Linked DNA regions of Homo sapiens: regions 1, 3 and 4 are each linked to region 2. The links are contacts of gene promoters, found by promoter capture Hi-C in blood cells and fetal thymus (Javierre and others, 2016). All regions are on one chromosome and are shown on one strand. Each heading gives the region's core, a stretch centred on a gene start or on the middle of the fragment in contact. The rest is flanking DNA. Distances are from core to core; before and after follow the strand shown. Region 1 overlaps CARD10 (caspase recruitment domain family member 10). Region 2 holds the start of IL2RB-AS1 (IL2RB and C1QTNF6 antisense RNA 1). Region 3 has its middle 7.1 kb from the start of ELFN2. Region 4 holds the start of CARD10 (caspase recruitment domain family member 10).

Region 1 (6,199 bases), core at 532-3,031, 330 kb before region 2:
TGGCCTTTGGGAAAGCCGGAAGGCCTCCTGGCTCGGGGCTGTGGCCTGGACTTCCTCAACAGGTACTGTAGCTGCCTGCAGTGGGTGGAGCTGGGGTGATTGCTTGAGAGGGGAACAGGAGTGAGGTGGGAGGAGCAATTGCCTCGCCCCTGTTTTATGCAACTATTGGAAGATTAAGATCTGTAGACACTGGCAGCCCTTGGATTCCAATCCTGCTGCCGCTCTTGATCGTCCCTGTGACTTGGGCTGGTCCCTTCACTTCTCTGGGCCTCCATTTCCTCAGTAGCTAAAGGGAGATGATGACCCTTTTTGCATGGAGGTCTTTTGAGGGCTCTGCTCGCAGAAGCAAAGCACCCAGCTCTGCCAGGCATGTAGCAGGTGCTTAGTAATAGTTGTCACTTACAAGCTGTCCTCGTCCCAATGTCCTGCCTGTCAGTCCCTTGGCTCTGAGTCCCTGGGACTGAGCCACCCAGCAAAGTTTCATGCTGTGGGTGGGCTTGGGTCACCTCAGGAGCCCCTGTGACCGGGCCAGCCACAGGTCCATAACAGGAGTCACAAAGCCCATTAGTGCAGAGTGCACTGTAGGCGACGTGCTGTTAGTGTGGCCGGTGCGTGGCCGCTGTTCACACCTGCCAGTGTATCTAAGGGAGGGGTGGGGCAGAGCGGGGGCTGCACGGCCATTGTGGTCTTGGAACTCAGCTGTGAGGAGAGGGCAGGTAGGGAGAGCATCCGGTGACTGTGGAGGAGGAGCGAGGGGGAAGGGCGAAAGTCAAGGCTTCCTGAGTCAGGCTGGGAAAGTGTGGACTTTGGCTTGTACACTCTGGGAAATGTGGGAGGGTTTAGTTATTAACTGCAAGGCCAGCTGCTGGCTGTTTTACAACATGCTCTTTGTCCAGGGAGTAGGCATAATGACGATTATCTCTGCTCCATAGAGGAGGTAACTGGGGCTCAGAGAGGTTAAGCAACTTGCCCAGGGTCCCACAGTTGGGAAGTACCAGGTCTGGGTTCATAGTGACCTGATCAGATTTGGGTTTTGGAAAGGGCATAGGAAACATGGACTGTCAGCGCTGGAATGTGGAGGTGTTGGGTGCAGAGGGATGGGTCACGCAGCAGATGGGTACAGCATAGGACCAGGGCCTCTGGCCTCCGGAGCGGCTTGGTCAGCCAGTGTCCAGGCCCTGCCCCCACCTGGCCCCCGGCAGTGGGCTCAGCGAGACATTGTTTTTGCCTGTGCAGGACGTGCTTCTCGGGGAAGGGGTGGAGGCGCCTCCCTTCCTGCTCGCCTCGGCCCTTCCTCCCTTCCTCCAGTTTGGGCTGCAGCAGGGGTCCTGGCTGTTGTCCAGGGGGCGCCAGGATGCAGCCAGGGAGCAGGAGCCTCCGTCCCAGCCCCGCCCAGGCCCCACGATCACATGGGGCCACTTCTGCTGCCCATGCTGTTCCTGGGGAGGAGAGAGGTTCCTGGGGAAGAACACAGGCTGGGGAAGGTGCAGAGGTGGTGGACAGAGAGAGAGAGAGAAAGAGAGAGAGAGAGGCAGACAGGCGGAGAGGAGAGGGAGAGGGAGATGAGGGCCCGGACAGGTCCCAGGTCGGGGCAACTTGTGTGTCTCCTGGGATTGTGTTATGGCGAGGTGGGAAGAGCTGGCTTTGGTGTCAGCACTTGCTACTGTGGGACCTTGGGCATGTCTCTGAATTTCCCAGTGCCTCAGTTTCCTGCTCTGTAAAATGGGCTCACATAGTGCCTGTCCCTTAGGGTCACTATGGGGGTTTGAGTATCCCTTCTAGAATGCTTAGCACACTCACGGTGGATGTCAGCATATGCTCGCGGTTAGTTATGATTATTGTCGCCATTGTTGTTTAATCCTCAGAGCAGCTCTGCAAGGCTGGAATTTTAACCTCGTTACACAGACCAGGACACTGAAGTACAGAGACAGTTAGAAATTGGTCCCAAGTCACAGGCCCCTCGGAGCTGGTTGGAGATTCCGATGTGCCTCCCCACTGTCTCAGCTGTTGGAGATCTCACATCCGTATTGTGTGCCCACTTTGTACTGGGCACCATGTTGGGCATTTTCTCTCCTCTTTCCCATTTCCTGCCCATCTCTTGCCCTCAGCCTCTCTGCCCTGCCCTTCTCAGCTCCTGGAGCCTGGGTGCCGGGAGGGGATGGTGGATAGTGGGGGGCTGGGGCAGACCGGGGGTTGGGCTGACAGATAGTCAGGTGGGGGACAGCAAGGGAGAACTCATGGGGCAAGTGAGGTGCTGGGTGAGAGAGGCAGAGCATGGAGAGCACTGGAGGGTTTCGGGGTGCCGTCTCCCCAGCATAGCCTCACCACTGCCCAGCTCGCTCACGTGGCCCCAGGGGATCTCTGGCACCTTCTGTCCTTGCAAAGAGAGGGTTCCCATAAGTCATTGCCTGGCTCCACGGCCCACTAGCTGTGCCCATTCTTGGCAAGTTAACTTTCCTGTGCCTCAGTTTCCCTTATCTCAACCATCGGGTTGTCAGGAGGATTGACTGAGGTGATCTGTGTGGCATGCTTCAGTCTCAGCATCAGGTCCCTGACCTGGTACCAAGCAGGCACGCAGACTACTCAGATATCTTCCCACGGGGCCCTGGGGGACATTCATTGAGGCCATGTGGCCTGTCACTGCTCAGAGCTGGCAGAGCTGGCAGACTTGCCCCGTTCCTGTCTGCCTGTGACCTGACCTGACTGGGGAGGGGGCTGGGAGCTGGTAGCTAAGGACACTGTGCTTCCTAGTACCACACAGGCAGCCAGCTGGTCAGCCAGTCCCAGGAGCGGGGAGCAGGCAGCCCCTCTCCCTGCTGTGTCCTTTCTCTACCCCTCCTGCTTGTCTGCTGAGGCGGGGGGCTGGGAGGAACCCTATCTGGACCCTGCTCTGGGCAAGCCCCTGTGGGCTCTGCAGACTCCGAGGAGTGCTGGGAGCAGGTATTCCTGGTCTGTGGAGGCTCAGAGAAGTCACTGGTCCTTTGAGGAGGTTGGCAAGGGCGTCCTGGAGGAGGGGGCGCCTGAGCTGGGTCTTCAGGGAGCTGCAGGAGTTGTCAAGAAGAGCCTGAAAAACCTGAGTTGAAAGCTGAGGTCAGCCTTGATGCTTGCATTGCAGAGGGGAGAGGTGTGGAGGAGGGAGCGAGTAGAGGTGGGTGGGGTGGGTAGGGTTGGTGGAAGAGCCTGGATGCCAGCTGCTTACTGGGCTCTGGTCTGGAGAGGCCATGATGGTCAGTTGTCTGTGGGTTTGAAACAGGTGGGGAAACTGAGGCAAGCGAGAGGTGATTTGTTGTGAATCACACCTGATGCCAGTAAATGTCTAGTTTTGACAGAGCACTTAGTGTCTCCTGGGCCCTGTTCTGAGAGCTGCCCATGTCTAAACTCAGCGAGTAGCCAGGGAGGTGGGTGGAGCTGAGGCTCAAGCGGCTGAGCAGCTGGGCCGTTTGACCCCAGAGTTCCTGCTGGCACCCTGCGTGCTGTGCTTCTCGGACCATCTGACCACAACCCACAGTGAGAGAAACCCGGTACACATGCCTGGAACAAAAAGGTCATGAGATAATAATTGGATTTACCTGGGGTGGCGGGAGCGGGGTGGGGGATAGCATTGTACTTTCTATTCCATAGCATTATCCAGCTGTCCCAGTCGCAACCCAGTGAATGTTACCAGCCACTAAGGGCCAGGCCTGCAGTTTGGAGGCCCCAGAGTCCTCTGGTTTCCACCTCTCCCTGCATTATCTTTTATTCATGTGCCCCCCCCCCCCACCCCCCAGCACCCACAGAGGGCAAGGGGTGTCATTGTCAGCTTCGTGTTATGCATGTGGTAACTGACGCTCAGCAGCCGGCTCATTTGCCCAGGCTAGGGTGCAGTTTGCCCTGGGGTTTGGAGCGGACCGTGTGCTCCAGCCACAAAGCCAGGGCCAGCATAGCCAGGCCAGGTCTCAGGCCTGCCCCCTTTCCATGCCACCTCGATGCAGCCAGGACATGCGGCACTGAATGATGCCTCCCATGCCTGCATCTGTCCAGCCCCTCGGCCTGGCTCTGTGTCTTACCTGAGAGGGCGGGGCTGTTCCCCAGCAGTGCCGATTGGGTGGGAGGTCCTTGCAGCCGCGCCCTCCCCAGGCTGGCAGCAGGGGGCAGTGCAGCTGTGTCTGGGCTGCAGCTGCTGGGGTGGATGGAGATGCTTCGCCCCGCTGCCTCTCCAGCCAGCACACCTGCTGACCTTGGTCTCCCCACCTCCTCCAGGCCAAGGTGTCTGGCAGGGGACTTGGGGTCCATTTGTCTCTGAGCCTGGCCACAAGGCCTCACCTTTTCTCATCCAGGGACAGGCAGAACCCTACCATGATGGGGATTTTGGTGACGTCTTAATTGTCAGTGGTCCTCCTGCCCATGGGAGGAAAACCAGACGCCTCTGTTCCACGCCCTCCAAAGGGTGGCTCCAGCTTGCCTTTCCTGGGAGCTGCTTCCCAGGATGTAAAATAAGAATTAGGGCAAGGAGCTCAGCATGGTGTCTGGCACATGGAAAGCACCCAGGAAGTGTTCGCTGCTATTGTTATTATTAAATTCTTCCACGCATCCTGTGTTCTGTCCTCCACACCTTTGCTCTGATATATTCCTTCAGCCTGGAACTCTGTTTCCTCCATCTGTCACCAAAGTGCATCTATTCTTCACCAGCGTGTAGCCTAGGTACTTCTTCCGTGGGAAGCCTCTCTCTGCTTCCACGGCTGGTTGTAACCACCTTTGGATCTGTGCCACGTGCTAATGGTGACCTCCCTCCTCAGACTGTGAGCATAACAAGCTTTTTTTTTTTTTTTTGAGACAGAGTTTCAGTCTTGTTGCCCAGGCTGGAGTGCAGTGGCTCGATCTCGGCTCACTGCAACCTCTGCCTCCTGGGTTCAAGCAATTCTCCTCCCAAGTAGCTGGAATTACAGGCGCCCACCACCACGCCCGGCTAATTTTTTTGTATTTTTAGTAGAGATGGGGTTTCACTATGTTGGCCAGGCTGGTCTCGAACTCCTGACCTCATGATCCGCCTGCCTCGGCCTCCCAAAGTGCTGGGATTACAGGCGTGAGCCACCGTGCTTGGCTATATAACAAGCTTTTATTAGTCATCTGCTATGTGCCAGACACTGGGTTTGGTGCCAGGGCTACAGAGCGGAACAGTATAGAAGTTTGGTCCTGAAGGTGTTCGTTCTGATGGAGGAAACGAAAGGGCCGTGGCAAGGCAAAGTTGGAGTGCTCTGTGGCACGCAGGCTCCACTGCACCGTGTGCCCAGGTCCAGGGGAGAGGCTGCTTGTGACTTGAGATTTGAAGGATGATCAGCATTTCCCAGGTGGAGAAGGCAAGGAAGAGGGCACAGAAGATGGAGAGGCCTGGGGGTGGGAGTCATGGCATACTTGGGAAATGAAATCACTGTGGTTTTCCAAGAATGCTGAACTGAATCCAAGTACTGATTGGACTCCAATTCTCATCTCCTTTCTCCCTTCTCAGGTCTCTGGCTATTCGGGTGTCTGGCCGGAGCCCCCCAGGGGGCCCAGAGCCGCAGGACAAGGGACCAGATGGACTGTCGTTTTATGGGGACAGATGGTCTGGGGCTGTGGTGCGCAGGGTGCTGTCTGGGCCTGGGTCCGCCAGGATGGAACCAAGAGAGGTGAGGCCCTGCCTCCTGAGCTGGGGGGGTAGGGTCAGTGCTTTTGCCCAGGCTGGACATCCCTTAATTTGGTGGATCAAGATCACCGGGCAGAGCTTCTGGGGATTGGTCAAAGCCGAAGCGGGCTCAGTGATTAGCTGTGGTTGCCTGCTCAGCCAGGCTTAATTGAAGTCTGATTGGGCAGGGACTGGGAGGTGGAGCCAACTGACAGCACGTTACATTCCTGCGCTTCAAGTCGAGAAAGACCTGGATGAGCTGGGCGGGTTGGGGAGTCCTGTGGATGGGGGCGTCCTGTGGATGGGGACGGGTCTGACTGGGCTGGGCATGGCAGTTTCTGAGGGGGCGCTATCTGAACTGTGAGGCATGAAACACCCCCACACCTGGTCTTCCTCCAGCCCCTGGGCTGCTCTACTCTCAGAGGCTCACTTCTTTCCCTCCCTGCCTGGGTTTTCTCCCAGCAAAGGGTGGAAGCTGCTGGTCTGGAGGGGGCGTGCCTGGAAGCCGAGGCCCAGCAGAGAACCTTGCTCTGGAATCAGGGGTCCACACTCCCCTCC
Region 2 (6,023 bases), core at 3,299-5,798:
TATTATTTGAATGAAAGAGCGTGAGGCCAAGCATGACGACTCACAACTGTAATCCCAGCACTTTGAGAGGCCGAGGTGGGTGGATCACCTGCGGTCAGGAGTTTGAGACCAGCCTGGCCAGCATGGTGAAACCCTGTCTTTACTAAAAACACAAAAATTAGCCAGGCATGGTGGCCGCGCCTGTAGTCCCAGCTACTTGGGAGGCTGAGACAGGAGAATTGCTTGAACCCGGGAGGCAGAGGTTGCAGGGAGCTGAGATTGTGCCACTGCACTCCAGCCTGGGCAACAGAGCGAGCCTCTGTCCCCCTCCCCACCCAAAAAAAAGAGCGTGAGTCCTAGAATTTGGGAGGTAGTAAAATCCACCCTCATCCATAATATCGGAAGTTCCACAGGCTGGCAGGATCATCCCACCACGTGCCCAGCTTCCAACCACAGAAAGGCGCTCCCAGAATTTTGCAGGATTTCTTTGGATTTGCTTCATGTTTATCTTTGAGATTGCTTCATCTCTTTGGAGATCAGCAGTAAAGTCTTAAAGGCAGCAGGAATCTGTGTGTTTGCGGAGACAATGAGGAAAGGAACTGAGGGAAGTGTGTGTGGCCCGTGCAGTGAGGCTGGGAGGCCATGAGCCACGTCAAGCAGTGACTGCGTGGTGGAGAACCCCAAATGTGGCACCCTTGGGACTGAGAGGTGGCCAGAAGGGGCAAGTCGACTCCCATGATGCCTCCACAGAGAGGGATGGAGGCTTGGGTTCTAGACTGTCCACCCCCAAGAGGCCACGCCTGTCATTACCCCAGCCCCTGGGTGGCGCTGCTTCCCCTGTGGCAGACACGCATCTCTCCACGGCTGGGGGCAGCGGGGACAGTGCAGAGTCTGCCCCCGCTGCTGGCCTAGCTTGTCCATCCCTGTCTATGAGGAGCTGTTGCTCTTCTCAGCTGCTCTCCTGTTAGGTCTTGGGACCTGCACCTTCTGTGATGTCAGCTGCTAAAACACACCCCATCTCTTCTGCAAAACAGGTAGCTCATTTCACCCCCAACCTTGGCAAACACCAAACTTCCTGCAGCTGCTTTGGTTTTCTTCAGGGCCTTTCTGCTGTGTTCTGGCCTTCCTGAAAGAGTCTTATTATTCTGTCCATCCACATCCACTGTCTGTCCATCCGTCTGTCTGTTCATCCCTTCATCCATCCATCCATCCATCCATCCATCCATCCATCCATCCATTCTTCCTTCCTTCTCCCCCATCCTTCCTTCCTTCTCCCCCATCATTCCTTCTCTCCCTCCATCATTCCCTCCATGATCCCCCCATTCATCCTTCTTCTGTTCATCCATCAGTCCATTTTCCATTCACCCATTAACCACCCTTCTATCCACATCACAATGACTAAGCACCTCCTATGCTCCAGGCACATACCAGGCAGCATAAAGAAATGCAGAATGAATGGGATTCAGTTCCTGCCCTTGGGGAGCACCCACTTTAGTTGGGGAGAGAAGGAAGGCCTCTGGCAGGTACCTAACCCCATCAGAAAGCAAGGGTAAAGGCCTGGGAGGCTTCACGGAGGATGTGAACCCGGGGCCTGAAGGATGATGAGTCCGCGGGATAAGAAGGCAAAGGAAGGATGCCACATGCAGGGCAGGGAGGGGGCAAACCCTGGGAGGAGGGGGAGGCATGCAAGCGATTCTGCGTTCTGTGTGGCCAGAGGATTGGATGCAAAGGGGGATCTTCAAGAGGGGGCCCAGTTAGGGACAGCCTTGAAGCCAGACTCAGGATGCTTGGATAGGGTCTTGAGGGCAGTGGGGAGCCCCTGAAGAGTTGTGTGCAAGGATGCTCTGGATGCAGAGTGAAGGATGACATGGCAGCGTCCCGCTAACAAATATGAACCCCTCTGTAAACAGAACCCCTGTGTAAGCAAGAACCCTCTGTAAACAGAATCCCTCTGTAAACAGAACCCCTGTGTAAGCAAGAACCCCTCTGTAAACAAGAACCCCTCTGTAAACGTGTAAACAAGAACCCCTCTGTAAACAGAATCCATCTGTAAGCAAGAACCCCTCTGTAAACAGAACCCCTCTGTAAGCAAGAACCCCTCTGAAAACAGGAACCCCTCTGTAAACAGAACCCCTCTGTAAGTAAGAACCCCTCTCTGTAAGCAAGAACCCCTCTGTAAACAGAATCCATCTGTAAGCAAGAACCCCTCTGAAAACAAGAATCCTTCTGTAAACAGAACCCCTCTGTAAGCAAGAACCCCTCTGAAAACAAGAACCCTTCTGTAAACAGAACTCCTCTGTAAACAAGAACCCCTCTGTAAACAGCATCCCTCTGTAAACAAGGACCCCTCTGTAAGCGAGAACCCCTCTGTAAGCAATAACCCCTCTGTAAACAGCATCCCTCTGTAAACAGAACCCCTCTGTAAGCAAGAACCCCTCTGTAAGCAGAACCCCTATATAAGCAGTGCCCCTCTGGCACTGGGCGTGGAGGGAAGGAGATGGAGCTGGGGAAATATTAGGCTCTGGTGATAATTGTTGTTCCCCAACTGCCTTCAGCCACCTAGTCTGTGCCTTGGCTCTTGCAGCTCCCTCTGTCTTGGGCCCTTTCTCTCGACCCATTCCGGCCTATGGAACACTCATCCCCATCCTCCCAGAGAAGAGGAAGAACCCAGCCTTCCTCAGGTGCCTCCTGCATGCCAGGAACTGTGGGTGATGGCTTCTCTGTGTGCACAATCTCATGCCATCCCCATGAACCTAAGAGGTGGGGAGTAGTCGCATGTTTCAGATGCAGAAACAGGCTCAGAGAGGTAAAGGAACTTATCCAAGATCACACAGCTAGGAAGTGGCCAAGGTGGGATGGGGACCCAGCCCTCACTGCCTTTGCACAATGACCCACTGCCCACAGCACCGATGCCACATCCTCTGGAGCCTCCCCTATGGCTCCAGCCAAGCCACGTTCTATTTTTGGGTTTGTGTTTTTGTGTTTTGTCATTTGCAGGCGTTTCAAACTGGGCACGCTCTATGCCTCTCATACTCATTATGACCACATTTTCTAAAGACAAAACTGCACAGACAGCCTGAAAAAGTATTTTTTCTGTCTTGTTACTTTCTTTAATAACGTCTTAGCCAGTTTAGAATCAAATCACATGTATTTACTCTTCTCACGTGATACCAGGACTGTTCTGAAAGTTCAGGCCAAGGGTCACCACATTGACACGATTTCCTTAGTTATAATCATTTGCATACTTGTCCTACCTCCATACCAAGAGAAGGTACTCTGAGTTAGAGTTCAAATCCCACACATCCTTGTCATTCCCACAGTGCCCAGCATGCTGCTGCCAGCAGGTGCTCAGTAAATCCTTACTGAACTCATGCAAAGGGGACAGACGCCACCTCAGCCCAACACCAAGATTGTCCTCCCTCCCTCCCGCACCCCTTCCCTTCCTCCCTTGCTTCCCATCTTTCAATAAATGCAGTTTGAATGCATTTGTCACACAAAGCTTTAGGCTCAGAGAAGCTGTGGGACTCCATGCACTTCACCTGTGGCCTTGAGGCACCGCAGTCCAGCCAGGAAGACAGACACCAGGCAAATCCTCCCACCTATGCCCAGTCAATTAGGAATATGAGCACCTGATCCAGTGATGGGCAGGGCAGCATCCACTTTAGATGCACGGGGTGCTGGGAAAGCTGCCCTGAGAAAGTGACCGCAGGCTGAGGCCTGGGGCAGAGAGAACGTGGGCAGGGGCTCGAGGCAGGGAAGAGCTTGGAGACTTCCAGGAACTGCCAGACAGCCAGGGGCAGTGGGGCAAGGGAGAGAAGAAGCCAGAGAGGCCGCAGGCCTGGGCTTTCCATGGCGAGGAGGCCTGGATACTGCATAAGTGCAGCAGGAAATGTTGGGTGGGGTCGGATTTTCACTTTACAAGGGCAGTCGCTGGGGCAGAGGGCATGGGACTCAGGGAGGGACTCAGGAGGCAGAGAGATGGTGGGACGAGACTGAGGGTGCCGGCTGGGGCTGGGGGTAGAGGACTGTGAGCGCTTGGCACTTGGAGGCAGTCAGAGCTGGTCTGGGCAGGGGTGCTGTCACCCAGGGCCGAGGAAAGGGATACAGGAGGGGCAGAGGGTGGGTCGGAGGCTGTCCTGGGAACCCTAAACGTGGGGGCCAGGAGAAGGAGGTGCTCCCGTTTCTGATCTGTACCAATTAAGGGGAAGGTGAGAAATTGCTTGGGTGGAGTGTCCTTCTCTGAGTCTGGGGGTTAGGTGGGATGAGGGGACCTCGGAGGCTGGAGGCCAGAGTTCACACTCCTGCCCTGCTGTGTGACCTAAGGCTGAGAGCTGCCTCTCTCTGGGCCCAGATGCATCATTACCTATTCAGCAAGCAGCTGGGCCTGAGAGCCTCCGAGATCCCTTGCAGGTCTGCTGGTCTCGGCTGCCTTTCCTTGGTCTGCCCTCATGCTGTCTTCCCAGAAGCCAGGGGCCCAGTTTGCTTCCCCTGCTTGTCCTGTGGGCACTTGCGACTCCCGGGGAGGCAGCAGACACGGTCCAGCGTGGTCACGCTCCTGGCCGCGACTTCACCTCCCTCCTGCAGCACAAGTCTCGAGGAGGCTGGGGAGGTGCGCGCACTGCCCTCTGGTGGCAACTTCTGGGCCCACCTGTCATTGTGCCCTGCTGTTTTCTAACTCAATTATTCTTGAAGGGATGATTGAGCGCCTTTTGCATGCAAAGTCCCGAGGTAGGCATGAAGTAGTTGGGCAGTCCAGATGGGGGAGAAGGTGTCGTGGATGTGGAGCCCAGGGTGTCACTCTACGCGCTCCCGATCCCTCCCAAGGCCTAGGCGTCCTCCCTCCACCGCGGGAACGGAGCAGGGGTGGCACAGAACTCTGGTGGCTGCAATGAGGGTTCAACGGTTGAATGCGTGGAGTGCATCTTAGCTTCACTTCTGGCCCAGGAAGCGCAGGCTCCGTGTACAACACACGCAGCGGTGCAGTGCCTTCAAAGGGGGCGTGTGGCTGTGTGTGTGGATGTGCCAGTTTTGGGCTTCCTCTCGGCAGGAGGTGGGGGGGCGGGGAGGCTCTGGCGCTGAGTGCCCCCTTTCCATTGCGGTCCTTTGGTGCAGTTGAGGGTCCCCCCAGTAGCAGGGGCATTTCCAAGGAGCCAGGACTTCAAGGGCCTAAGGCTGGAGGGGCCCTGTCCAGTGCAACAGAGAGACCTTGAGCATGGGCGGTGAGGTCACCTCTCCTGGCCCAGCTATCAGCTGAGCTGGATGTGCATGGCTCAGGTTTGCACAAAGGAGGCCCACCTGTTCACAGGAGTTCTGGAAAGAACACACCTGTGGCAAAGACACACACACGTGCACACCAGACAGGCCATGATCTCGCTCCCCTGGCGAGGAATGACTTCCTTGCCGTAGGGAGAATTCAGGGGAGTCTGGCCCTCTTGAGGAGATGCTGTAGAGGGGAGTTGTGGACGGTTGGATTCAGGATGTTTTCAGCTCCAAGTGTCTGCTTTAGGCCGGTCTGCACCTGTGTCCTCCCCGCCTCTGTCCTTCTGGCACTTGCCCTGGGTAGGCCTGGCTCAAAGCCCTCTTCTCCCCTCCTCCCCCAACCCCACAAACAATAATAAAATTAAATTAAATTAAATTAAATTAAATTTTTAAAAAAAGCCCTCTTCTCCATGAAGCCTGCCCTGAAGAGGCAGCTGCCCAGGAGCATCTGCACATCTCATACAAACTTTAGCTGTGATTATATTGCATTCGTTCCCATGCCTATTTCCTGTCCCTGCAGCTAAACTCTGGGCTCCTTGAGGGCTGGGTGGAGTCTTGGGCATCTTTTGTGGCTGCTATAACTCCCAGCCCTGAGCCAGGATAATACAGACGCTTGACAAACGCTCCATGCTGACTGGCAGGTGTTCCTACCTTCCATGCCTGGGAAAATCATGATTCAGACTCTCCCTGGAGAGGCCACGGTCAGAGAAACATTAGGAAGGACAGAGTGGGTTCTGGAAGGCCAGAGGCACACGGCCAGAGCAGGCACAGATGCGGCCAGCCAT
Region 3 (5,794 bases), core at 1,081-3,580, 270 kb before region 2:
CTCGTGCCTGCCCCCGTTTCCTTTCCCCACTCCTCTTGGCTGGCATCTACCATGGCTTCCAGGCCCCCAGGCCCATTCTGATGGGGCCTTACCCCCGAAAAAAGAAGTCTTGGGCTCAGTTTTCTTGCTGCATACCGAATAGACTCCATGGTACAGCTTTTTTCACCTTCCCACTCTTAGAGCTGGGCTTCTGTCTCAGTTTCCCTGCCTAAAACTCCAATGAATGTGGGATAATGGGAGTCAGATGGGCCTGGTTCACCTCCTGCCCTACCATCACTCCAGTGCAAGCAGCTTCACCTCTCCAGGCCTCAGTTTAAGGCCTATCTGTTAAGCGAAGGAAGCGCCACCCTAACCAAGTGACCAGGGTTAGTATCACCAATGATCCATCCTGTACCCCCTGACATGTAGCAGTGACAATGTACTATAACTCTGGGCTGTTCTCCCCCACTGTGACCCATATTAATGATAAGAAGACATCAGACAGGCCAGGCGTGGTGGCTTACGCCTGTAATCACAGCACTTTGGGAGGCCGAGGCCGGCGGATCACCTGAGGTCACAGTTCGAGACCAGCCTGGCCAACATAGTGAAATCCCGTCTCTATTAAAAATACAAAAATTAGCTGGGCATGGTGGCGCATGCCTGTAGTCCCAGCTACTCGGGAGGGTGAGGCAGGAGAATTGCTTGAACCCAGGAGGTGGAGGTTGCAGTGAGCCGATATTGTGCCACTGTACTCCAGCATGGGAGACAAGAGCGAAACTCTGTCTCAAAAAAAAAAAAAAAAAAAAAAAAAAAGCAAGCATCAGACAAATCCAAATTGAGGGACAGTCTACAACATATCTGGCCCTTCAAAACTGTCAAGGTCAAGCAAAGCAAGCATAGTACAATGAACTGTCCCAGGCTAGAGGATTGAGGAGACATGATGGCTGAATACAATGTCATGTCCCAGATAGGATCTTGGAACAGAAAAAGAATCCATGGAAAAACAGGTAAATCTGGATGAAGGCTGGAGTTTAGTTAATGGTAATGCACCAATGCTAATTTCTTAATTTTGACAAAGGTACCACGGTTATATAAGATGCTGGCTTCAGGGGAAGCTGGGTGAAGGGTATCCGGGAACTCTCTGTGCTATCTTTGCATTGTTTCCATAAATCCAGAATTATTCCAAAATAAAACATGTATTTTTAAAAAGTCCCTGCGCTGCTGCTGTTGCTGTTGTCTGGCCAGGGTCCCTCCCAGTTCCTCTGCTGACAGGTCCTCTCCCTGGTTACAAGGGCAGGGGTACCTGACCCAGGCTGGGTCACCCTGGCCACAGCAATTGGTCCAAGGGATAAGCATGTGACCCACGCTGGGCCAATCAGAGTCCTTTCCTAGAATTGTTCAGCTTGGAATGGGAAGAGAAGCTCTTCCCACTCTGGCCATGAATCTGTCAGGCCGTAAGTCTGGGCCTGTGGAGGCTCCTGGTTCTCCTGCAGCAGGGACAGTGGGCCTGAGAGAACTACAGCACAAAGAGAGGATGTTGATGGCATTCAAGATGGCCTCCTCCTCCTTCCCAGTCTTCCTCAAGGCAGCCTGCCCTGTTATGGGAGTCAAGATATCACCTTTGAGTGTAATCCAGTTCAAACTGGTTTAAGTTGGGTTTCTGTCACTTACAACCAATGAGTCCTGGGGACTGATGACATCCCCTCAGGTTGTCATGAGGACATGGCGGCATATCTACAACCTGGCACAAGGGAGCCGCTCCTACGTGGTGAGGGGTCTTGTTATCCTCTCCAAGGAGTCTGGGGACTGCCCTGGACTCCAGCCTGCATGGCTGTGGCCCTGACACAGGCTCCCCTCCTGGTCCCACTCAGCCCCTGGTAGGAAGGAGAGGTCCCACTTCAAAGGAGCCCGCCTGGCTCACAAATCCCTTCCCATCTCCAGGCCCTGCTCCAGCCTTCTCCTCTGGGTGTGGGGAGCTGGGGTCTTGGCTGTGACCAGAGCTGGGTCTATGGCGGAAGAGAGGGGAAGTCCCTATCACCGCCCTGGCCAGACCTGGCAGAACTAAGGCACAGCTAGGTGTCAGATGCCAAGGCTGTGCCAGTGCTTGCTCTGAGAATGAGTTGTGATGGGCCATGTGAGCTGGAGTTCCATGGCCTCCAAGCATGAGGGCAGACAGAAAGCAGGAGATGAGAGAAAATGGGGAGATTTTGGAGAAACCAGTCAGAACTACCGGAAGGATCTGAGTGAGACCAAGGCCTCTTCTGTGGCCTGCTCTTACTGCCCCCTCTCAAATCTTCCTCCACGCCTTGCCCCTTCCAGGCGCCCTGCCTGCGTGCTCCTCCCACCTGTCAGGCAGGTTCCTGGAGCATCTCTTCTTGTGTGAAGATTTCCTTTGCCCAGTGCCCACCCCTGGTCCCTAGGGCAGAGCCGAATTCACCAGCCTTCCTGTTCACCCATCCGTTTTCTCTCCTCATGCTGGCCACTCCCTCTTCTTTTCTTCCTTCGTTTGTTCACGCAGGCATACACTTGATCATTTTCCTTAGCAAATATTTTTGGAGTGCCATCTGCATGCCAGACCCTGAGCACGCAAAGGTGAATGGGACCCACCTGCCTTTGCTTCTGTGGCAGTGAGGGAGAGAGGAGGGGCTAGGTTTAGCAGGCAGAGCTGACAGGAGCCCAGGTGGCATCCAGGTGGCATTCAGGTAGCATCTGGGATTTGAGCCTGAGTAACTTGGTAGCAGCCACACAAACCCTCCCTTTGCCATGGAGTCTTGGGAATATATACAATGCATCCCCCTCCCCAGGGACCGTCAGTCCCCCAGATTCTACAGTGAGAGAACCTCAGGAAAGGCATGACTCTGGGAAGTGACAAGCGATTGTAGGGCTAAGAATGGGGCTTTGAGCCTAAAATATCCCCAGCGTCTCGTGGCCACAGCCTGGCTGCATCAGCAGGAAAGCCTGGGGGAATCATCGCCTCTTCTTCACTGTGTGATCCTGGTCAAATTGCTTAGCATCTCTGAGCCTCTGCAGTCAAATGAGAATAACAGAAGTACCTCGTAGATTGTTGTCATTATTCACAGAGACTTTAATTCATGTAGAGCACATGGCACCAAGCCTGAAGGAGAGTAAACACCTCCTTTTTGAGCTATTATTACGATTTTAGGAAGAGTGTGGCCAGGTTGCAGAAAACTCCAGATGCCAGCGTAAGGAGCTGGCGCTTTACCCTGTGGAGTCAGAGACCAGAAGTTTTTGAGCAGAAAAAAGAACATGAAGAAACCAGCCAGTCAGCTCCTTTCTAGCCCCTACAGCATCTGGAACCTCGGAGCCGGCAGCAGGTCAGCAGTGACAAGCCCAGCCATGAGGCCGGTGACCTCCAGCTCCCAGGAGCTGCCGGCTGCCCCAGTTCCGGACCCAGGCAGCAGCCTGCCCCCACCCCCAGCATCTCCCTGGAGGGAGCCAGATAGATGGTTTAATAATGCAGGCTGCCGGGCTGACCTCGTAGCCGCTGAGCCAGCTGAGGCTAACTCCGCTCCCCCTGCTGTGGCTCCCGCAGAATTCCAGAGCTCCCTGCAAGGGTGCTCAGATCCAAATGGCAGCCACACAATAGTGCGGGGTGCAGTGGCCTCTGGCTAGGGGACAGAATAAGTCAGGCAGATGCAGAGATCTGAGCCTTCCTTCCTCCTCCTCCAGCTCTCCCTGGGGGTGTCTCAGAGGAGTCTCCTGGTTCAGAGAGCTGAGAGGAGGCCATCTGCCATGGGGCTGTAAACACTCGGCAGATCCCGCTTCTGTTGGAGCAGGCCTCGGGGTTGGGGGGAGGGGGATGGACACTCTCGGTCTGGCCCTTGCACCATTGGGTGGGGCAGCTCACCAGGACCCTCCCCAAGCACCTGCTTGTGACTGGCAAGGGGCTGGGCACCCATGGCACAGATCTGGATTAGATGGTTGAATTGGCTGAAAATGGCTCACCTTCTAGTGGAGGCAGCCGGTGTGTCAAAAGGGGTGTCCCCCATTGTCCTCCTGTCCCCTCCCTATCTGACAGCACACTCCAGGGCTGCTCTACCAAGACTGGCGGGGAGGCAGCCTGGCAAACCTCACCATCCAGTCATCTCAGCCCCAGCCAGGCAAGCAGGGTGCCATCAGCACCTCTAATAGGGTTCTCTGGGGTCCCTCCCATAGCTGGGTCTCTGGACCTACAGGCATCCACGTGGACACTTCAAAATATCCCCCAGAGTGTGGCCCTGGCCTTTGGTCCTCACAGGCACCCCCTCACTGGGGCCACACCTTCGGCCACCTTTGACTCTTGTCCAGCCCTAGGGTCTTTATGCACATTCTTTATGCATCATTAGCCTTGAGCTGCCCTTGGTCTATAAACAATGAAGACCATAGGCTCTCAGAATCATGGACTCCTAAGGAATCAGGCCATCCTGTGTTGGCTGCCACTCCTCTAGTTCTGTTTTCGTCTTTGATAGTCTGGATGCAGAACACAGAACTTCCTCAACTTCCCCAAATATAATTGATTGATCTCAAAACCACTGGCCCCCAAGAGGGCTCCTGATGGTACCTCCCTCCTGGGCTCCACCCCCTGTGTGGTCCCCTCACTACAATGAATGGGTCAGATCCATGGAACCAACGGGAAAGCAAAAATGAGTGTTACTTCTGAGGACAGGTCTTAAGAGACACAGGCTTCCTACTTGTTCTCACTCTGGAGAAAGCAGCCGCAATGTTGTGAGGACACTCAAACAGTCCTATGGAGAGGTCCATGTGACAAGACACAGAGGACTCCCACCAACAGCCAACACCACCCTGCCAGCCACGTGAGGGAAGCATCTCAGAAGCAGATCCGCCAGCCCCAGTCCAACCTTCAGATGGGTGGAGCCCCAGCTAAACATCTTGACTGCAAGTTTATGAGACATTTCAAGGCTGAATCACCCTCTCCCAAATGCCTGACCACAGAAACTGTGAAATAATAAGCATGTCATTTTGCAGATTTAAGCCACTGAGTTTTGAGGTAATTCATTACAAAGCAATAAATGACTCATAGGAGAAACACGCAGACTTTTCTGAAGGGAGTGGGGGGAAGGAGGTGGTAGGGAGACTGAAGTGGGGGAGGGGGCTCGTAATGTACACACCACAGCAAAAGAATGTCAAAATCCTTCCTAGAAATACATGTGTTCTTCGCAACTAGGCCTCCTGGGCGGGTCGGCTTCCCTCCCTGTCACCTTCCTCCCGACTTGTGGTCTCTTCTCTCTCCTACTCATTCTCCCCCAGGCCCCAGCATCTGACAACTACCTTCATCCTTGCATGCCCTGACCTGTCACAGTGACCAGAAAAACAAAACACTCCTAGATAAGAGGACCCACCTTCCCCAGAAGGCAGCTCAGCCCCCATCTCTTCCTAGTCCACTTGGCAGGGTTCCACCGTGGGCAAGGACCACGCTTTGCCTTCCAGGCCCGTCTTTTTCTTCCAGGCTCTGTCTCACCACTGGCTCCTGTCCTCAGCGAGCTGATGTCCTCAGTTCCAGTACTGGAGGCGCAACAGAAATGTGATTTTAGGTCTGGATCCAAAGGAGGAATGTGACACCCCGCACAAGCTCTGGGGTGTGTGTGTGTGTGTGTGTGTGTGTGTGTGTTTCTCTGAAAGAATCACTTTAACCTAATTTTCTTAGCATCAACTCAAAATGCCACTGAGACCAAGTGAAGAAAATTTCACCTAAGTACAAAGGGTAAATCTTGTTATTCACCTTAAACAATGCGTGAAGCTTTTAGCATTTCTATGTTCCTCTCACTCTTCCTCCTCTGTTCTCTAAGCTTTGAAG
Region 4 (5,978 bases), core at 354-2,853, 350 kb before region 2:
CAAGGCCACAGAGAGGGGAAGGACGTATTGAAAGGGAGGTCTGGTGTGTGCCTGGACTCGGGGCTTGGAGAGGACAGAGGCCAGGGGCTGGGCTCCGGCCTATTCCCATTGTGGCCTCGCTGTGTGAATTTGGGCAAGTTCCTTGCCCTCTCTGAGCTCTGCTTCCTCCTTTGTTAATTGAGGAATTTGCACTAGAATTCAGTTCTCCCAAAGCATTTCTTCTGCATGTAAACAGGTGACACCCAAAACAAAAACAAATGTACAACAAATGCAAACCAAAAAAAGGCTGTGGTTAATTAAGTTTGGAAAAGGACACCAGGATATATAAAGTTAAATCTGTTTCTTTACTGCTGGGGCTTTTTTTTTTTTTTTTTTTTTTTTTGAGGGGGAGTCTCATTCTGTTGCCCGGGCTGCTGGAGTGCAGTGGCACGATATCACTGCAACCTCCGCCTCCTGGGTTCAAGCGATTCTCGTGCCTCAGCCTCCCGAGTAGCTGGGATTACAGACGCGCACTACCACGTCTAGCTAATTTTTATATTTTTAGTAGAGATGGGGTTTCGCCATATTGGTCAGGCTGGTCTCGAACTCCTGACCTCAGGTGATCCACTCGCCTCGGTCTCCCAAAGTGTCGGGATTCCAGGCATGAGCCACCGCCCCCGGCCTTAATTTAAGCAGGGCTTTTCAGAGCCTTTATTGATTGAAACCTTAATTCTTTGGATAAGTAATACATATGTCCACGGCATCTAATTCAGAAGTTGTGGAAGGCGATTAGGGAGCTCACACCTCTTTCCTGTACCGGTTGTGCCTCCTCTGTTCCTCCCTGGCAGCAGGTACCTGGCAGCTTCTAATGCATAGCGAGACTGTATCGCATGCACCAGCAGATACCGTGTAGACTCGGCCAGTATCATGGTAAGACACCACCGGCCTCCCAGGCAGGAGCGGGAGTATGGATGGCTAGTCACAGCCCGCCCCCAGCATCTCTGGGACCAACACCTGGAGGAATACCCTTTGAGAATTGTGGGGTCCCTGGTCCTCAAGTGCCACGGGAGTTTGCGTAAGAGGGGAGTTGGCAGTGCTGCCCTGCAGGTTCAGACCCCCATCTTGCAGAAAGCCCCCATGACCTCTGCCCATTGCTGTCCCCCGCGGGGCTGTCCTGCGCTCCAGGGAAGCTCCCGCGCCCGCAGTGCATGTGGGGACCCGAGAAGGGCAAGCCCAGCTTGAGTGCCCGCGGGCTGCGCCGGGCGTGAGCGGCTAGCCCCGCACGGGCGGGCGCGCTGTGGGCGTGGGGAGGCGATGCGCGTGGCCCGGGGAAGGTGTGTCGCGGCGCGCGGGGGGTGTGAGCGCGCCTGCCCGCCCCCGCCCCGCCCAGAGGCCGGGCAGGTGTGGGCGGGCGGCCAGGACCCCGCCGAGCCGGGCTGGAGAGCCGGCGGGAAACAGGAAGCAGGGGGAGGCGCAGCCGGACGGCCGGGAGGGAGGGCGTGCAGACGGACGCGCGGGGTGGCCGGGGGCCGGACGCACGACCCGGGGCGGGCGGCAATGTGGGGAGGCCCGGGCAGCCCAGGAGGCTGCGGGGACGGGGGCGGAGCCGGGGGCGCCACGGGCACCGCCCCCCTGCGCCGGCGGAGCCGCCGCCCGAGTGCGGACCCGGGAGCCCGAGGCGACTGTAGCGTGCGGGGTGAGTCGCGGGGAGCTCGGGGCGCGCCCCCGACGGCGGGTCTGCGGACGACGCCCCGGGGGTGCTTGGCCGCACATCTAGCCCTAGGGAGCCCTGGTCGACCCCCGTGCGCCTCTTGCCCGCAGACCCTGAGGACACGGCCATGCCGGGCCGGGCGGAGGCGGGGGAGGCCGAGGAGGAGGCCGGGGCCGGCTCGGGGTCTGAGGCGGAGGAGGACGCGCTGTGGGAGCGAATCGAGGGCGTCCGGCATCGGCTGGCTCGCGCCCTGAACCCGGCCAAGCTCACGCCGTATCTGCGCCAGTGCCGGGTCATCGACGAGCAGGACGAGGAGGAGGTGCTGAGCACCTACCGCTTCCCGTGCCGCGTCAACCGCACCGGTGAGCCGCGGGTCCCGAGTGGGCCACGACCTGGGCCGGCCGTGCCCTGGGGCGCAGCGCCCACAGCCGTGTAGCGCGAAGCTAGGGCTCTGCTGCCCTGGGGCTCGGTCTCCGCATCAGTAGAGTGGGCCGGCTGGGTATGCCCACCAGCCTGCCTCCTCCCCACCCACCACTGCGCCTTGGCGGTCCGCGTTGCCCACACCGGGGTCAGAGTTTTGTCTCTTGGGGTTCTCTCCCACTTCCTGGGTCCACATTAGAGCAGAAGGTTGGATGTGGCTGCCAGGGCCGGCTGGGCCTGGGACCTCCCGGTCACAGCCGGTGGACTTGGCACCTTTCCTGCGCTCTTTGATCTCCGAGTTCTGTCTGTCCCCTCCTCTGTGCACCATACACTCCTGGGGGAGTCCTTTTTCAAGTGTCAAGATCCGTCTCAGCTTTACGTGGGTCCCCACTCCCACAGGGTGTGCCTTTGAACCAGAACTCAAAAAGGCATGATGGAATGGTCTTTAATGGTGGAATTTCAGGCATGGCCAATGGGAGAAGTATTTTCTTTGCTTCTGGGGATAGAGGGGGCTTCTCTGTGCCATTGAAAAGGCAGGCTGCATTTGCGGGCCGGCATCTGTGTCTGTGGGGGGTGTTGGGGAGCTCTGGGAGCCCAGGAGTCATGAGGGAATGTGCTCCCCTGGCTGTGGCAGAATGGCTCTCTTCTCTTCCCTGATGTGTTGGGACAGGCCCCTGTGTGTGTCACTGGCTCAAAAATCTGGGGAACGTGGGCCTGGAGCATGGTGGGGGCAGAAGCAACCAGGCACCTGGGGAGGCCTTCCCCTAGACCCTGGGTACATCCCCCCACTACTCTGTAGGGCGCCTGATGGACATCTTGCGCTGCCGTGGCAAGAGGGGCTATGAGGCCTTCCTGGAAGCCCTGGAGTTCTACTACCCCGAACACTTCACGCTGCTCACGGGCCAGGAACCCGCCCAGCGCTGCTCCATGATCCTCGGTGAGTGGATCTGCGGTGGATGCTGGCACCTCGGACTCCAGTGCACAGGCTCCTTTCCCCATCCCTGTTAGGGAGGCGCTCCCACTATGCCTGTTGAACAGTAAGGGAAACTGAGGCATGGAGAGGCTGAAGGGGCTTGCCCAGGGCCCCACGGTAGGCTGAGGGTGGGGCTGGGTGCTAGTGCCGTTATTCCAAGTTCAGAGCCACATGCTTAAGATGGCTCTTTCTTCGTGATACTGTTTTCAGACATATGTCTGACATACACAGATGTATAGTTTTTTATGTAAAAAAATACAGAGGCTCCAGGTGACTTTGAATTTTTTTTTTTTTGAGACAGTGTCTTGCTCTGTCACCAGGCTGGAGTGCAGTGGCGCGATCTCAGCTCACTGCAACCTCCGCCTCCCAGGTTCAAGCGATTCTCCTGCCTCAGCCTCCCGAGTAGCTGGGATTACAGGCATGGGCCACCACGCCCTGCTAATTTTTGTATTTTTATTTTTAATAGAGATGGGGTTTCATCATGTTGGCCAGGATGGTCTTGATTTCCTGACCTTGTGATCCGCCTGCCTCGGCCTCCCAGAGTGCTGGGATTACAGGCGTGAGCCACTGCGCCTAGCTGAATTTTTTTATATAAAAAACACAAACACATACACACACGCACACACGCCTACGTGTGTATTTTGCTTTTTCTTAGAACAACTGATTTTAGTGATTCTTTCACCTCTGTTACATACACTTGTTTTAAGTGACTGCATACTGTTCATTAGTGAAGTTAGGACATAATTCATTTAACCCATTTCCAGTTGATGGATACCTAGGTTTCCAGTTTTGTATTATTACAACGATACGGGAACATCCTTGTATGTGCGTCTTTGTGCAAATGTGTCTCAGGCGAAGAGGTTCTGAGAAGAATTTCTCAAAGAGTCTGTGTATTTTAACTGTTAAATCAACATACCTCCTACCAGGAATGTGTAAGGGCCCATTTGAATCCTGGGGATCATGTTTAAACGTTTTTACCATTCTGATATGTAAAAAATAATGTTATTGTTTTAAGTTTATATTTCATTGAGTGATACAGTTCACAGGTTACTAGTTATTAAACCTTGGGTAAATAACTGCTCTGTGCTTCAGTTTTTCTGTCTTTAAGATGGGTACAATAATAGTACCTACCTTACAGTGTTGTCATAAAGATTAAGATATATCTAGCACAAAGAATGAAGTTAACAAATATTAGTAGCTACTGTAATTATTGTTGATAGGTTGGTGCATATTTTCCTGTATTTATTAACTATTTTTATTTTGGGACTTGCCTATTGATAGTTTTTGTCCATATTTTTATTTGGTTGTTGATCTTATTGATTTGTAGGAGCTCTTTATATATTACGGCTCTGAGTTCTTGTTATATTTTCTCCCACTCTGTTGCTTATTAACTTTGTTACATCTTTCATTTTTCAAAGGTTTAAACATTTTTATATGGATTTGTCCATCTTTTTTCTCTTATAACTCCTGGATTTTGTGTGTTGTTTAGGAAGACCTCCCCTGCTCCCAATTCTACAAATATATTCCAGAATTTCCCTCTAGTGTTTTTATGGTTTGAGTTTTTTGACACAGTATGTTATCTCCTGGATTTTACTTGCCTGAGCTGCCTATTCTGTCCCCTGTTCTGTCCTGGCAGATGAGGAGGGGCCTGAGGGCCTGACCCAATTCTTGATGACAGAGGTGCGACGGCTGCGGGAAGCTCGCAAGAGCCAGCTGCAGCGGGAGCAGCAACTGCAGGCCCGGGGCCGGGTGCTCGAGGAGGAGCGGGCAGGGCTGGAGCAGCGGCTGCGGGACCAGCAGCAGGCTCAGGAGCGCTGTCAACGGCTGCGGGAGGACTGGGAGGCGGGCAGCCTGGAGCTGCTGCGGCTCAAGGATGAGAACTACATGATCGCCATGCGCCTGGCACAGCTCAGTGAGGAGAAGAACTCGGCTGTACTTCGCAGCCGTGACCTGCAGCTGGCGGTAGGCCCTGGGGAGATGGGTCGGGGAGGCAAGGGAAGGGGCAGCTTTTGCAATGTAGTAGCCAGCCAGCCTGTGTCCCAGAGCCACCATTGCTGGCTCTTTGACGTGGATAAGTCCTTTTAGTGCTCGGTGTACCTACTTCATTGGGTTATGACTGTGGTTCTCAATGGGGGGTGATTCTGACCCCCTAGAAACATCTGGCCATGTCTAGGAAATATTTCTGGTTGTCACAATTAGTGGGGATTTATTGGCATCTGGTGTGTAGAGGCCAGGGATGCTGTCAAACGCCCTGCAGGGCACAGGACAGTCCCCAGCAAAGAATTACCTAGCCTAAAACATCGGTAGGGCCGGGGCCAAGAAACACTGGGTTATGAGGATTTGATAAGTTGTTTTTTTTTTTTTTTTTTTTGAGATGGAGTCTCACCCTTGTTGCCCAGGCTGGAGTGCAGTGGTGTGATCTCGGCTCCTTGCAGCCTCTGCCTCCCGGGTTCCAGCGATTCTCCTGCCTCAGCTTCCCGGGTAGCTGGGATTACAGGCTCGTGCCACCACACCCAGCTAATTTTTGTATTTTTAGTAGAGATGGGGTTTCACCATGTTGACCCGGCTGGTCTCGAACTCCTGACCTCAGGTGATCTGCCCGCCTCGGCCTCCCAAAGTGCTGGGATTACAGGCGTGAGCCACCGTACCTGGCCCGGTGAGTTTAAGACACAGTTTCAAACATGTACAGTCCCTAGCACACTGCTCACAACTTGTGTCATCAGTAGCCATTGTTGATATTATTATCAAGAGACACATAGGTTAAACATCATGTCTTCTAATCCTCACCAAAGCACCATACGCCAAGCCCTCATTTGCAAATACAGACTCTGAGACTCAGATTAGTGAAAGGACTTGCTCAAGGTCACAGAGCCAGGAAGCGGCACAGCCTGGATT

The links. The method cuts DNA at HindIII sites, captures the fragments that hold promoters and counts their contacts. A CHiCAGO score of 5 or more calls a contact.
Region 1: a contact is called between a fragment that was not itself captured here and the fragment with the promoter of IL2RB-AS1 in region 2, in 7 of 17 cell types (neutrophils, non-activated CD4 T cells, naive B cells and 4 more). The highest score is 8.7, in neutrophils.
Region 3: a contact is called between a fragment that was not itself captured here and the fragment with the promoter of IL2RB-AS1 in region 2, in 9 of 17 cell types (naive B cells, neutrophils, naive CD4 T cells and 6 more). The highest score is 10.6, in naive B cells.
Region 4: a contact is called between the fragment with the promoter of CARD10 here and the fragment with the promoter of IL2RB-AS1 in region 2, in 3 of 17 cell types (neutrophils, total B cells and naive B cells). The highest score is 6.5, in neutrophils.

Annotation. Positions count from the first base shown.
Region 1 is chr22:37,496,465-37,502,663 of GRCh38, reverse strand. CARD10 (caspase recruitment domain family member 10) reads left to right here. Exons shown (of 20, transcript NM_014550.4): 11 at 1-62; 12 at 5,486-5,645; 13 at 6,104-6,199. Among named protein-coding and RNA genes, the nearest start is that of MFNG, 13 kb to the right of the region's middle. RefSeq lists enhancers at 1-2, 3-602. The HindIII fragment of the contact is 6,027 bases long and covers 1-4,794 here.
Region 2 is chr22:37,165,284-37,171,306 of GRCh38, reverse strand. IL2RB-AS1 (IL2RB and C1QTNF6 antisense RNA 1) reads right to left here and starts at 4,548. Exons shown (of 2, transcript NR_199008.1): 1 at 4,343-4,548. It also overlaps a transcript of IL2RB not described here. RefSeq lists enhancers at 2,954-3,013, 4,328-4,377. The HindIII fragment of the contact is 5,870 bases long and covers 3,481-6,023 here.
Region 3 is chr22:37,431,682-37,437,475 of GRCh38, reverse strand. No RefSeq gene overlaps it. Among named protein-coding and RNA genes, the nearest start is that of ELFN2, 7.1 kb to the right of the region's middle. The HindIII fragment of the contact is 6,818 bases long and covers 1-5,739 here.
Region 4 is chr22:37,515,040-37,521,017 of GRCh38, reverse strand. It overlaps CARD10 (caspase recruitment domain family member 10), which reads left to right and starts at 1,603. Exons shown (of 20, transcript NM_014550.4): 1 at 1,603-2,052; 2 at 2,910-3,047; 3 at 4,720-5,045. The coding sequence starts at 1,818. The HindIII fragment of the contact is 26,549 bases long and covers 1-5,978 here.